Regions from separate parts of the Homo sapiens genome. Here regions 1 and 3 are each linked to region 2. Evidence: promoter capture Hi-C in 16 types of primary human blood cells and fetal thymus (Javierre and others, 2016). All regions are on one chromosome and are shown on one strand. The core of a region is centred on a gene start or on the middle of the fragment in contact, and the rest is flanking DNA. Distances in the headings are between cores, read along the strand shown.

What was found. The method cuts DNA at HindIII sites, captures the fragments that hold promoters and counts their contacts. A CHiCAGO score of 5 or more calls a contact.
Region 1: a fragment that was not itself captured here is called in contact with the fragment with the promoter of FCRLB in region 2 in 1 of 17 cell types (naive CD8 T cells); the score reaches 5.1 in naive CD8 T cells.
Region 3: a contact is called between the fragment with the promoter of APOA2 here and the fragment with the promoter of FCRLB in region 2, in 2 of 17 cell types (naive B cells and neutrophils). The highest score is 6.3, in naive B cells.

Annotation. Positions count from the first base shown.
Region 1 is chr1:162,026,601-162,030,803 of GRCh38, forward strand. No RefSeq gene overlaps it. Among named protein-coding and RNA genes, the nearest start is that of OLFML2B, 4.8 kb to the left of the region's middle. The HindIII fragment of the contact is 3,406 bases long and covers 1-3,218 here.
Region 2 is chr1:161,718,652-161,722,980 of GRCh38, forward strand. FCRLB (Fc receptor like B) reads left to right here and starts at 2,893. Exons shown (of 8, transcript NM_001002901.4): 1 at 2,893-3,010; 2 at 3,104-3,199; 3 at 4,002-4,052. The coding sequence starts at 4,022. RefSeq lists a silencer at 246-295 and enhancers at 3,675-3,774, 3,855-3,954. The HindIII fragment of the contact is 7,241 bases long and covers 22-4,329 here.
Region 3 is chr1:161,222,378-161,226,501 of GRCh38, forward strand. APOA2 (apolipoprotein A2) reads right to left here and starts at 1,251. Exons shown (of 4, transcript NM_001643.2): 1 at 1,218-1,251; 2 at 973-1,048; 3 at 541-673; 4 at 1-145. The coding sequence starts at 1,024. The coding sequence ends at 28. TOMM40L (translocase of outer mitochondrial membrane 40 like) reads left to right here and starts at 3,683. Exons shown (of 10, transcript NM_032174.6): 1 at 3,683-3,759; 2 at 3,978-4,124. The coding sequence starts at 4,113. RefSeq lists enhancers at 3,089-3,198, 3,659-3,728. The HindIII fragment of the contact is 2,953 bases long and covers 1-2,161 here.

The sequences.
Region 1 (4,203 bases), core at 266-2,765, 310 kb after region 2:
CACCCGGACAAGATATTTTGCTTCCTGATAAAAGAAACAAATAGGAGAGAGGACCTTTCTGGTGCTACTCTTCCCTCACTTCTTGTCTTTGATTGTGTCTTTGACCACAGTCAAAGTGTTATAGGACCAACAGGTTCTTATGCCCGCTGTGCAGTAACAGACCAATTACACTATGTCAGCAGGGTTTGCAGCAGAGAAAGAATTTGATGATTGCAGGGCACCACGTCAGGAGATGGGAGGAGACCCTTGAATCCATCTCTCCAAGGAGCTCTGGGCTGGCGTTTTAATTTAAGGGGATTGTGGAGAGTGAGTGGCTAAAAAATTGAGGTTATTAATTGGTTGGGCCAAGACGATGGAACAAAGTTCTATCATCAGGATGTGGAAACTGCCTTCTTTGGTGAGTCAGGATCTCATGGGGTCCTTCAAACTAGCTGAGTCAGTAGCTTCATCAGTATGCAGGACCCAAAAGAGTATCTCAAAGGGAAAACATAATGTTTCATAATGTTCAAGTTGTTTTCTATAGAACAGTTAAGGGGCTTTATAATCTTTTAACAGGATCTATGTGATTCTGAGGCAATAGGCACAGAGTAACTATGAGGAAACAGGTCAGAGAGCAAGTAGACCTCACGATTACTGCTGAATGTGCTGTGAACTTGGTTTATTTTCATTTCTTCCCTTTCCTTCTTCCCTGGTTAATTTTATAAAGTTTATAGGGGCTGTTTCAAAAGTGCCAGGAGCTGTGGCAGCCATCTTATGACCATGAGTCCTTTCTCTTATCTAACTAAAATATATTTCCTTTAGGGTCTACTTTTAAAGTCACCTTTTAATGTCCAGTCCTACAGTCCTACACAGAATATGTCTAAGGACTTTCTCACGGAGAGTTTCATTCCTTTCACTTAAAGATAAATAGTTAAGTACTGGCCGGGCATGGTGGCTCACGCCTGCAATCCCAACACTTTGGGAGGCCGAGGCAAGTGGATTACTTGAGGTCAGGAGTTCAAGACTAGCCTGGCCAACATGGCAAAACCCTGTCTCTGTTAAAAATACAAAAATTAGCTGGGCCTGGTGGCACACGCCTGTAATCCCAGTTACTTGGAAAGATAAGGCAGAAGAATCACTTGAACCGGGGAGGCAGAGGTTGCAGTGAGCCGAGATCACACCAATGCACTCCAGCCTGGGCAACAGAGAAAGACTCTGTCAAAAAAAAAAAAAAAAAAAAAAAGGTTAAGTACCTTCTAAATATCCTCTTTCTCAACATCACTAGCCCACTTTCTTCATCTTTTATCTCCATTATATTCAACTGTTTCTCAAACCACATGGCCTTCCAAACTCTTCATTATTTTGGTTATTTTCTCTCTAGAAAGACTCCAGTTTGAGTAGATATTAGAACCTATTGAAACAATTTGTTCTTTTTTTTTCTGGGCACTGTGCTTTTATTAATGCAGCCTAAGATTACCTTAGTTTTGGCAGCCAGATTGCACCAACGACTCACACTGATTTATCTTTTAAGTGTAGTTTTTAAATTTATTTTTGTGTGAATTTTTTACTGGTTTCCTCCATTCTGTGCTTTCCAGCTATGTTCTCTCTTTTTTTTTAATCCAAGTATAGGTGTTTACATTTTTACTGTAACAGTGTGATGATTTTGGTCCATTTTTTCATCCTGTTGAAATATTGCTATTTTTGCTTTTGTCCTGGTTTTGCATAATTTCCAAATTCACTAAGCATAGTTTCTGTCTTAGTTCAAATGATTAATTTTAAAAAGCCATCTTCCTTCAGATAGGGCCATATTCTAGAGCTCTACCTCCATAATAGGAAAAGTCTCTCCTTATTGATGTTAACCGTTTTGGTGTATGACTGTTCAGGCAGTCATGGGTGTTGGTGCCTAGTCCACATGTCTTCATCATGTCTACAAGCATTTCTTGAGAGACTTTTATCACTGTCTTTCAGAAATCAAGATACACTGCTCATGGCATTGCTTCTACCTGCCTGCCTGGCAACCTGAACTGATGATTCTGTGATGAGCTTGGTTTGGCTTTAGCAAATTGGGTTAAGTGCTTTTTACTTGTGTTAAAAAAAAAAAAAACATAGCTGGAAAGCACAGGATAGAGGAAACCGGCATAAAATTCACATAAAAATCCCTGCATCTTTTGCTCAGAGCCTATGAATTCCACGTCACTGGATCCTCGCATCATGGTGTAAAATAAGTCTTGCCCTCCCTGGTTAACAGATGAAGTCATTGAAGCACCAACACAGTGATATGTATGATGGCGACTCTGTACTGAGTGCTTCCCATGTGCCAGGCATCATTTGACGGTCAGAAATCCCCTGAGTCAGTATCATTTCCTCTTACAAATGAGGAAACAGGTTTAGAGACGGACAGACTGTGGAAATGTTCCAAGAACTGGGTCTCAGAAAGCCGTAAGTGTGCCACTTCATCTATCTTAGACCCTGGACCTCACCAGTTGTGGCTGGCTAGCAGGTTGTTGAATTCTGGGGATCCCTCAGCAACCACAACCACCATCCCTCACGAGCCAGTTTGCATCTGGCAAGAGCATCTGTTTTCCCGTTTACCTAGGAGCCTCCTGACTTTGCTCTGAAATGTCTGTCTGTTGAAAATTAAGGCTTCATTTGCCAGGTGGGGCCAAGGTGGCTAGAAATGGCCTGCCACCTTTGTGTGTAATTGAGAAAATGCACCTGCCCCACGGCAGCAGAATCAAAGAGCAAGGCAAAGTCCCACGAGCAACATCATTCTGCCATCTCCTTTCCCTGGCTCGCTGCAGAGTGGGAGCTGTGCCAGGGAACTGCCATAAAAATGCTGGAAAGGAATGATGGAAAGCACAACTGAAAATGAGGTCTTTTTTCCCCTGGTCACCCTGCTTTGCTGCTTTCCTGGCTTCTTATTTTGCCTCTGATCTTCTACATTCTCTCTCTCCTTTAATTCAGTTTAATTCATTTATTGAATATATATATTATGAGCCAGGCACTCTGTGAACTGCTGAATACACAAAGATGAAGATGACAAAAAACCTTTGCCTTCAGGAACTCATGTTATAAAGATTATAAATGTTTGATCCTGGGAAAGGGTACAGAAGAGTATGTTTTTCCTCAAGATATTTTAGCAAAGAAAATAAGTTTTTCCTTCTCTGAATTTCCCCAGTTTTAAGAACAATTTGCATTTCCTCATACGCCAAGCATGGTAATTTCTTTTTATTAAACTAAGCTTTACATAATAAAATTTAAGTTTAAAGCTAATTGAAGTGAAATCCACTCAGGTATTGAGTATAATATCTATGTGCCAGGTCCTGAGTTAGACACTAAAGAAACATGAATGAATAAGACATTAATAATAATTAATTCAAGATAATATTTCAAGGATCTCACAGTCTCCTGAGAGAGACACATAAATGGACAAGTGCCAGACACTGTGGAGGCCCACTGACAGGATGGCCAAGGTAATGGCCACCCAATCCAACTGTCTATGGGAGGAGAGTGGTGTCAGGGTGCTCTGGGGGACCTTCCAGGAGGAGCAGGAGTTTGCCAGGTAAAGGACAATGGTGCCTGAGGGACAGAAGTAGGGAAGTGGGGTCAGGGAAAGAAGGTGTGGAGGAGGAGAGAAGGGCATTCCAGGCCAAGGGGACCACAAGGACTGGGATTTCAAGATATGAAGGTTGTGATGTAGGCAGAGGCTGGAGTGTAAAATACAAGACGAAGAGTGAGAGGAAATGAAGTTAGTGAAAGAGTGAGAGGCCAGGTTGTGGAGGCCTTTACGTGCCATCCCAGAGAGCTAGGAGTATGTCTCACAGGCACTGAGGGGCCATTGACAGATTGGGGGCAAGAGAGTGCCATTGTCAGACTTGCAGATTAGATGAATGACTCAGGTGGTGAAGAGTGGACAGAAGAGAGAAAGGCAGAGCAATGACTGCAATTCCCTGCCTGCAGACCACTTGGCCTCCTGGAATGGCTCTGCCTGAGCCAGAGTCCTGTGCTGAGTGGGTCATTGCTCTGACTCAAAGGGAAGCTCCCTTGCCCTCTATAATTGGTGGTGACTAAAGGAGGGATAGGTAGGCAGAGATTCTGCCTTTCCAAGGAATTTTCCAGGGCTGCTACATGGCACAACTCTAGGGGATACCATTCATATCATAGTCCCTGTGAATGGGGCCCCTGAGAATCATGCAAGGCATGTCTGGCAACCACTGAACACTG
Region 2 (4,329 bases), core at 1,643-4,142:
TGAATTGCTGGTGGGTGTATAAGCTTCTGCAGCCACTTTTGAGAGTAATATCACGGTATTCAATCTCTTCCTTTGTTTATGCCACAAATACTTACACAGCACGTGCTATGTGCTGTCACTGCTGTAGGTGATACATCAGCAAAAAAGAAAAAATTCCTGCCTCAATGGAGCTTACATTCTAATGGGGGAACCTACCACAAACAAACAAATACAATTCCGGGTGGTGACAAGTACATTGAAGAGAAATAAAGCAAAATATGGAGCCAGCAAATGACAGTGAGGAGATACTATTTTAGATAGCACGGTTAGCGACCATCTCTCTGAGGAAGTAATATTTGAGTGAAGTGAGGAAGTGAAACTTACAAAAATCTGGGAGGAGAATAAGAATCTTTCAGGCAGAAAGAACAGCAAGTGAGGCCCTGGAGCAAGACTAAGCATGGAATGTTCCAGCAACTGTTCTAAACACAATGTGGCTAGATCAGAGTGAGTGAGGGGGAGAGTTGTAGGAAATGAGGCCAAGGGTCAGAGAAAGGCCCGATTTGTAGGGCCCTGTAGACCATGGGAAGGTGTTTGGAACTTATTCTGAGGGTACCTATGGGGAATTTTGAGAGAAAGTAACACAATATGGTTAACATTTTAAAAGTATCTCTCTAGCGACTCAGTGAATAAATTACTGTACAAAAAGATCAATGTAGCAGGTAGAGTCATCAGGACTTGCTGATGAATTAGATTTGAGTTTTGGAATGAGTGTGCATGTAACTCATGAACATAATTCTGCAGTCTTGCTCTCAGGTGTGTATCCCATAAAGGCGCTTCAGGGCTCTGTAGGGAAGCATCATGTCCTTACCAGTACTAACTTACATGAAACTTCCTATGTGCCAACCCCTGTTCTAAGCCCTTTACATATGTTAATTCATCCAGCCCTCACAATATGTACCAAGAAGTCCATTGTGGAATTGTCTGTGGTAGCTGAGGGTGGGCAGCAACTAGGATGTTAGGGGAATGGACAAGTGCAGTGTAGCAGAAGCATAGAATATTAGGGCAGTCATGGCTGGGCGCAGTGGCTCATGCCTGTAATCCCAGCACTTTGGGAGGCTGAGGTGGGTGGATCACCTGAGGTCAGGAGTCCAAGACCAGCCTGGCCAACATGGTGAAACCCCATCTCTGCTAAAAACACAAAATTAGCCAGGCGTGGTGATGCACGCCTGTAATCCCAGCTACTCAGGAGGCTGAGGCAGGAGAACTGCTTGAACCCAGGAGGTGGAGGTTGCAGTGAGCTGATATCATGCCATTGCATGCCAGACTGGGTAATAAGAGCAAAACTGCGTCTCAAAAAAAAAGAATATTAGGGCAGTCAAAAGCAATAAACATGATGCATGTAGAGCAATCTGAACAAATTTGAAACATCTGGGATTAATTTTTAAAAGTAGAAGTGAATATAATATCTAGAACACAATGCCACTTATGTAAATTAACAACACTAAATATTTCTCAAAGCTAAAAACTGCATGTTATACCTAATGTAAATGACGAGTTAATGGGTGCAGCACACCAACATGGCACATGTATACATATGTAACAAACCTGCACGTTGTGCACATGTACCCTAGAACTTAAAGCACAAAAAAAAATAGCATGTATATGGGAACACACAGTAAACATTTTACAGTGGGTGCTTATGTGGAGGGGAGGAGGACAATAATGTGGGTGAAAGTCAACAAGGTAAGACAATAAGAGGGGGAACTTGCAAAGACCAATAATGACAGCCGGCCATGAGCAGCATCTTGAATCCCTGACAATCAGAGAGATAAGAGAACAGATTTTGGAGACAGACTTCTATTCAAATCCCAGTTTCATCATCTCAGTTTCCTCATATGCAAAATTGGGATATTAATAATTCTTCCTCAAAGGGCCTTACAAGAATTAAGTGCAGTAATATCTGTGAAGCACTTAGCATAGTGCCTGCCACATGCCGAGACACTAAAGTGAGCTGTCATCAGCAACAACAGCATTAGTTCATTACTGTAATTATCACTGAGAACACTTTATCACCAGAATGCTTATCAAATGGTGACATATATTGTCCAGATGTTATGTTGTGATAGGCCTCAAATAATTGCTCAAGTTACAAATGATAATTTCTAAATTTTTCTGCATTGTAAAGGAGTGAAGAATTAGAAATTCTGGGGAAAAGTCCTAGATGGAGTAAAAAGACTCACTTTGGGAAAAACTTAGAGGAGAGCCTAGAATAAATAAATATTTCGTGGGAAATTTTTCAAGTCAAATTCTGAGCACTGTATAATATGAACAGTATGGATGGTTCCAGAGGTTTCTAGGGACGACTATACAGTTCACAAAGTTTTGGTGTACTAAGGTTTCTTCTGAATCGAGTAAAGGGGCTGAGATCTGTGCTCTGGGGGATGAGAAGCCAAAATAGAGCCAGCTTGTGTTGCCTAAGAGGACAGCTGACAACTGCATTGCATTCTTACCATTGAGGTGGTGGCTTGGTGCAGAAGTCAGACCTCTGTGGCAGGCTGTGGATCATGTGGGAAGCCACACACTGGCCCTGAGACGAGGAATTATTAGGATGGAGGGGAAGCACAAGAGTGCTGGTCAGCCCAGGCACTCCTAAAGCAGGCAGGTGATCATCCCTGTTCCCAGTAATTAGTTCTTCTCTGCCTCCCCTACTCTTGGGCACATTGTCAAATATGTCCCTACTTTGTTTGAAATCTACAGGACTCTATCTCTTTTATCAAAACCTGCACTCAAAACATGATCTGAAGTGACCAGCATAATTTAAATGACCAGTCACATTTTCCTAAGAGGCATTTGCATTTTTAAAAGGGGCTAGTCCATTAAGCAAAATATGAGGGGACTCTCAGAGTGGAACTTCAGGCATCAGCAAGAGGGGAAGATACTATCTTCCTGGGAGTTGACAGTACCTGATAATTGATCTCCTTCCCATCAGATTTCCAAGGGATCAAGGTGCCCCGGTTCTAAACAACCACAGGTAAGGACAGGATAGAGTCCAAGGAGACACACTATCAGGCTGGAAAATTCATTAAGTATTTACATGAAAATTCAGGTTCTCCTCATTGCTCAGGTACGGTCACATGGCTCAGAAAGCACAAGAAGTAGAGCCCCGAGGTCAGATCTGAGAGGCTTCTGAGGGGCCGATGCAGTGACTTCTCTGCTGCAGGTCAGGAGTTCTGGAACTGGGGCGTGGCTGGGGAGGGGTTGCAGGGAAGGGTGGGAGGAAGGAAGAAAAGAACAAGTGATTGGAAGTGCCACAGGATGAGCTCATTGGGATGGGTAGGAAAGAAGAGTTTTCTAACTTCTTAAGAATTTAAGAATTTATGAGAACTCAAGATTTCAGGAAGGGAGGAAGAAGAAACACATTGCATTTCTATCCTTGACTGGGGAACTAGATGATAGGGATGTGAAGGGTGGTTGGTGAGTCATGCCTTTTCGTCTACTCATTGTGGCAGGATGTGAGCTCTGGGGGCAGGCAACCGAACACTGACCTCTCTAGGTCTCATGCCAATGTCTGTCATCAGGAGTGAGCAGGAAAAAGGTCCTTAAGGACATGAGGCCGTGTCTTCCTCAGCTGAGCCTTGCAGGGCTGGCTGGAAGGTGGAGAAGGGATGGGATGGGAGTGGGATGTCAATGGGAGCCTGAAGATGGCGGGGTCATCTGCTGGAGCCTGGGGTTCTATGGGGCTCTCTTGTGCTGTGGAGGGCACAAGTTCTGCAGGCCTTCCTTTCAGTAGTCAGGGCTGGCCTGAGCTGTGAGGTGGCTGTAGATGCGGTAGATGAGACAGTGCCTGGCACTTGGGATACCTGATATTCAGCCTGTCTCCCACTGGTTCTGGTCTGCTATCTTCAGGAACTAGGAGTGGGTGGGAGAAGCAGCAATGTCTCCTAGTACTCAGTGGCATCCACTGGCCACATTCTTTCTCTCTGTTCCCCATCTCATGCCAGTGCATCTCCATCCTTCTGCAGCTGCTGCAGTCAGATCCATCATGTGGCCACTGACAGCCCTTCTGCTCCTGGGTGAGTCCACAGTGAGGCAGCAGAAGAGCTTTGGGTGGTGGAGAATAGGGTGGACCAAGGTATGGGGAGAGGAGGGTGGGTATCCAATCCTCAGTTTCCAAGTGGTTCATTATCTTTTTTTGGAGGGGTGAAGAAGAAGGGGCTTTCTCAGAGCTTGGGAAACCAGGGGCAGAAGAAGAAAAACAGGTTTTGGGACCATTCAGCCTTTCTTGTCGTCAAGAGTCTCTCTCCTCTCATCGCCAATATTCTCCTTCTCCTTCCTCTTCCTTCTTTCCTG
Region 3 (4,124 bases), core at 1-2,500, 500 kb before region 2:
GGGTTGGAAGACAATGGTCTGGACACTTCACTGGGTGGCAGGCTGTGTTCCAAGTTCCACGAAATAGCTCAAGAAGTTAACCAGTTCCGTTCCAGCCTTCTTGATCAGGGGTGTCAGCTGCTCCTTTGACTTTTCAAAGTAAGACCTGGATAGGTGAGGGGATTAGAGTTTAATCTGAGGGACCCTAGGCACTGGCAGGGGCCTTGGTGGTGGTGGGAGGTCAGAGCAGACTGACTCAGGTCCCCAAACTCTAGTGCCTGGTCCATCGCATGGCAAAGCCCCTAGGTAGGAATAGAGTCAAGACCTTTGCTAGGTAGAGGGACAGACTCTAGAGACTGAAATTCAAGGCCCAGTTCTTGCTGTTCCTCTCTATCTAAGAGACGTGTGGGATCTTTGGGTGATGAAATACTTTTTCTCTGCAATTTAAGCCTAATCTGCCCTAATCCCCACCCCTGGGTTCAGACTTCTGTGGGACCTCTCATCTTCCCTTCTTTCTCTCCACAGTTCCACAGCCCCTGAACCCCTTGCCCTGAGACTTACTTGGCCTCGGCCTGAAGCTCTGGGCTCTTGACCTTCTCCATCAGGTCCTTGCCATAGTCAGTCACGGTCTGGAAGTACTGAGAAACCAGGCTCTCCACACATGGCTCCTTTGCCTGTCTCCGAACCAAAGCTCCTGCCCACACACACACACACACACACACACACACACACACACACTCTTTTCAGCTGGGTCCACAGCAGTGAATCCTGGCCTCCTGCCATACCTCTGCCAGTACCCACCCCAGCTCTCTGCCCCCTCCCCAAAAAGGTATCCAGCCAGATCTTTGGATGGGCTTTCTGGGCTTTAGAGAGGGAATGATCTTCCTTTTGAGCCCTTTGGTTGCCAGACCTGGATATAAGAGCACAGGCAGATAGGTAGCTATAACCACCAGCACATTCTCCCTTTTGGCCCCCTCTCCATATCACACCCACCTTCAAGGCTGCAGATGGTGAGGAGTAGCACAGTTGCTGCGAGCAGCTTCATGTTGGTAACAGTGGGGAGGGCGGCCTAGGAAGAGGGTGGTGGGGGTTTGGGGGACACTGAAGCCAAATGGGCTTCAGCTCCTCCCCAGGGATCTCCCTACCTGCTGCCCATTCCAACCTGGCTCTCTCCCTCTCCACAACTGAAGCCCAGGCCTCTTTGGATGCTGCTCACACATCTTGCCTCCTTATCTTACCTAGCCAGCGTCTCTGTCCTTGGTGTCTGTGCCTGCCCTGGCTGGAGAGGAAGGGGCTATATACCTGTCTGTTTACCCACCCCCTGTCAGGTGACAGGGACTATGGATGGGCCCAGTGGGGCAGGGATTATGTGAGGATAAACAAGTTGGAGAAATGGGGGAGGAGAGGACAAGCACATGGAAGACTCATGGTGATGGGGTGAGAGGCAGGGGGTACAGCTCTTAGTGGAGGCTAAGGGGGTACACTTCAGGTATATTTGAGGTTCATTCTTTTGAGATCTGAGGTCCTTGGACTTGAGTGCAACAGGAAGCAGGATTCCAAGTTATTTCTCTGGAAAGCTCTGACATATCAACCCATGGAATACCATCAACCCATCATACCATGGAAAGCTCATGGTGTCTTTATTCCATTATGGGTAGATCTCATCTCTCAACCTTATCCCACTTTACTGCAACTTGGCAGAGAGATATTGGGGAGCAGAAGAAAGGAGAAAGGAATTGAAATCAGGGACAGGGTTGAGGGCTATGGGGGTTAGGGGAATGAGGGTCGGGTAAGAGGGCAAGTGTAAATGATCTTGTCCGTTTTTGAGTTAATGTGTAATGAGACGGGGAGAAAACAGGAGAGCCCAGAATGACCTGGATGCTGATCACTGAACATACCCTACCCCCAGTAAAACAAATTCAGAAAACAGCTTCCGCCCGTCCCCTCCCAATGGAGGGCTCTGGCAGGAAAAGAGGTGAATAAGAGGCTTCTACCAGGGTAAAGGTTGAAGGCACCTGGTCATTTGATCACCTTATCAGTTCTAGGCAGTGATTAGCCAATATTGAGTCAGCAGGGGCAATAGCCCTGGCCCTTGTCTCACTCCTGTTGGGGGTGGGGGAGGGGGAGAGGTACATTCCCAGGTTCAAAGCATTTGGGTGAAATCAGTTAAATAGATATCAGAAGCTTTTGTATCTTTCACCCTTTTGCCCCCCAAGCATACTCGCTGAGTATGTGGAACATTCCTGAGGGTGACAGTGGAGGCGCAAAGCTGATGAGGGAGGTAGTGACCAGAGACCAAGAAATCTTTGTTTTTTAACTTTTGTTTTAAATTCAGAAGTATATGTGCAGGTTTTTTTGTTTGTTTTCCTGAGACGGAGTTTTGCTCTTGTTGCTCAGGCTGGAGCGTAATGGCATGATCTCGGCTCACTGCAACCTCCACCTCCCGGGTTCAAGGATTCTCCTGCCTCAGCATCCCAAGTAGCTGGGATTACAGACATGCGCCACCACGCCCGGGTAATTTTGTACTTTTAGTAGAGACGGGGTTTCCCCATGTTGGTCAGGCTGGTCTTGAACTCCCGACCTCAGGTGATCTGCCCGCCTCGGCCTCCCAAAGTGCTAGGATTACAGGCATCAGCCACCGCCCCTGGCCTATATATGCAAGTTTGTTACACACGTAAACTTGTGTCATGGGGATTTGTTGTACAGATTATTTCATCACCCAGGTATTAAGCCTAATATCCATTAGTTATTTTTCCTGATCTTCTCCCTCCTCCCACCCTTCACCCTCCAAGACCAAGAACTCTTACTCCATTTTCAATTATTCCCCTGTGGAGCGCTTAGTGCTTGAGGTCAGCCCTTTGGCTTGTCCCTGGTCCTGGGATGGAGTGCCTTTGGGGGCCAGGCTCCATATTCCTAGATTTTATTTGCCAACTCTGCCTTGGGACTCAGGGAAGGAAGGGTTAAATACAGAAAGCAGCTGTTTCAGCGAATAGTTCTGCTAGAACTTACTCCTCTGCGCCAAACTCTCACACCCGTTTCCATTCCACCAAGTGGTCAAGAGCGGGGACTTCGAGAGATGTAGACCTCCAGAAGAGAAGGGTGGGTCCCTGTTCTAGGGAGTGCTGCGCTTAATGAGTAGTACTCATTTGGAGGTGTGCTGTGGAGGGCTGTGAGGAGGATTTCCCATGGGTTCTTTGGAGAGAAGGGAGCGATAGAAATGAACCAGGGTTCCAAAGAAGTCTTCATAATCGTTCTTTCTGCCACCCTTCACACTATGCCAGTCTACAAGCTGTAGTTCCACTTTTCTCATGGATGAAACTACATGGGTGGAAGGAGCTTCAGTGGCCCAAGCTACAAGATGCTCCCTCTAGTGTCTTGTACGCTCACAAGTTTTTTTCCGACCTTGGAGAGGCCTAGTGATCTAAAGCCTTCCACTTAAGTCTAAGGGGCCACCAATCAAGTCCTGCCCGCCTCTGCAGCTCCAGGGTTGAAGCTCTTGGGCCGTCAGACCTGCCACTCATTTTCTTCCTCCCTTCCCATTGGCCCATGGTAAATAGCGAGGCTTTTTTTTTTTTTTTTTTTTTTCATTGATTGGGCGGGGCCCAATCAGGGTTGGGTTGGGTCTTTGACAGCTTTCTTTGCCAGATTCAAAGATGGCGCTTACGGCCACGCTAAGAATGCAGCGTGAAGCTGCAGTTCTGCCATCACTCAAGATGGCTGCCCCCATCAAGATGACCGGGGTGTGCCGGGGGGAAAGGGGCAGCATGATGGTCTGAGATGGTAAGGGATACTGCACCATTGCGGGCCTGGTCTTGGGGCCTGGGAATGAAGAATAGAGAGGCTAGGGAGCTAGGTGAAGTCTGTGGTGGGGGCTAGGATCAGAGAAAGGGAGAGAGGACAAGGGTGACAAGTGGGGGTGAGAGATCAAAGATGGGGCGGGAGTGTGCCTAGGGTTGTCTCTCCATGAGTGCTCTCCTTCCCTACTCTTCCTGTTCCAGGTGTAGCGTCGGACCATGTGGAAGTTTCTGAGGCTGGGGAGCCGGATAATGGGGGGTGGGGCCCGTTGGGGGGTAAAGGGGCAATAGCGTCCTTTCACAGGCTAACCTCGGCTCTTCCCAGTCCTCTGGACTAAAATGGGGAACACA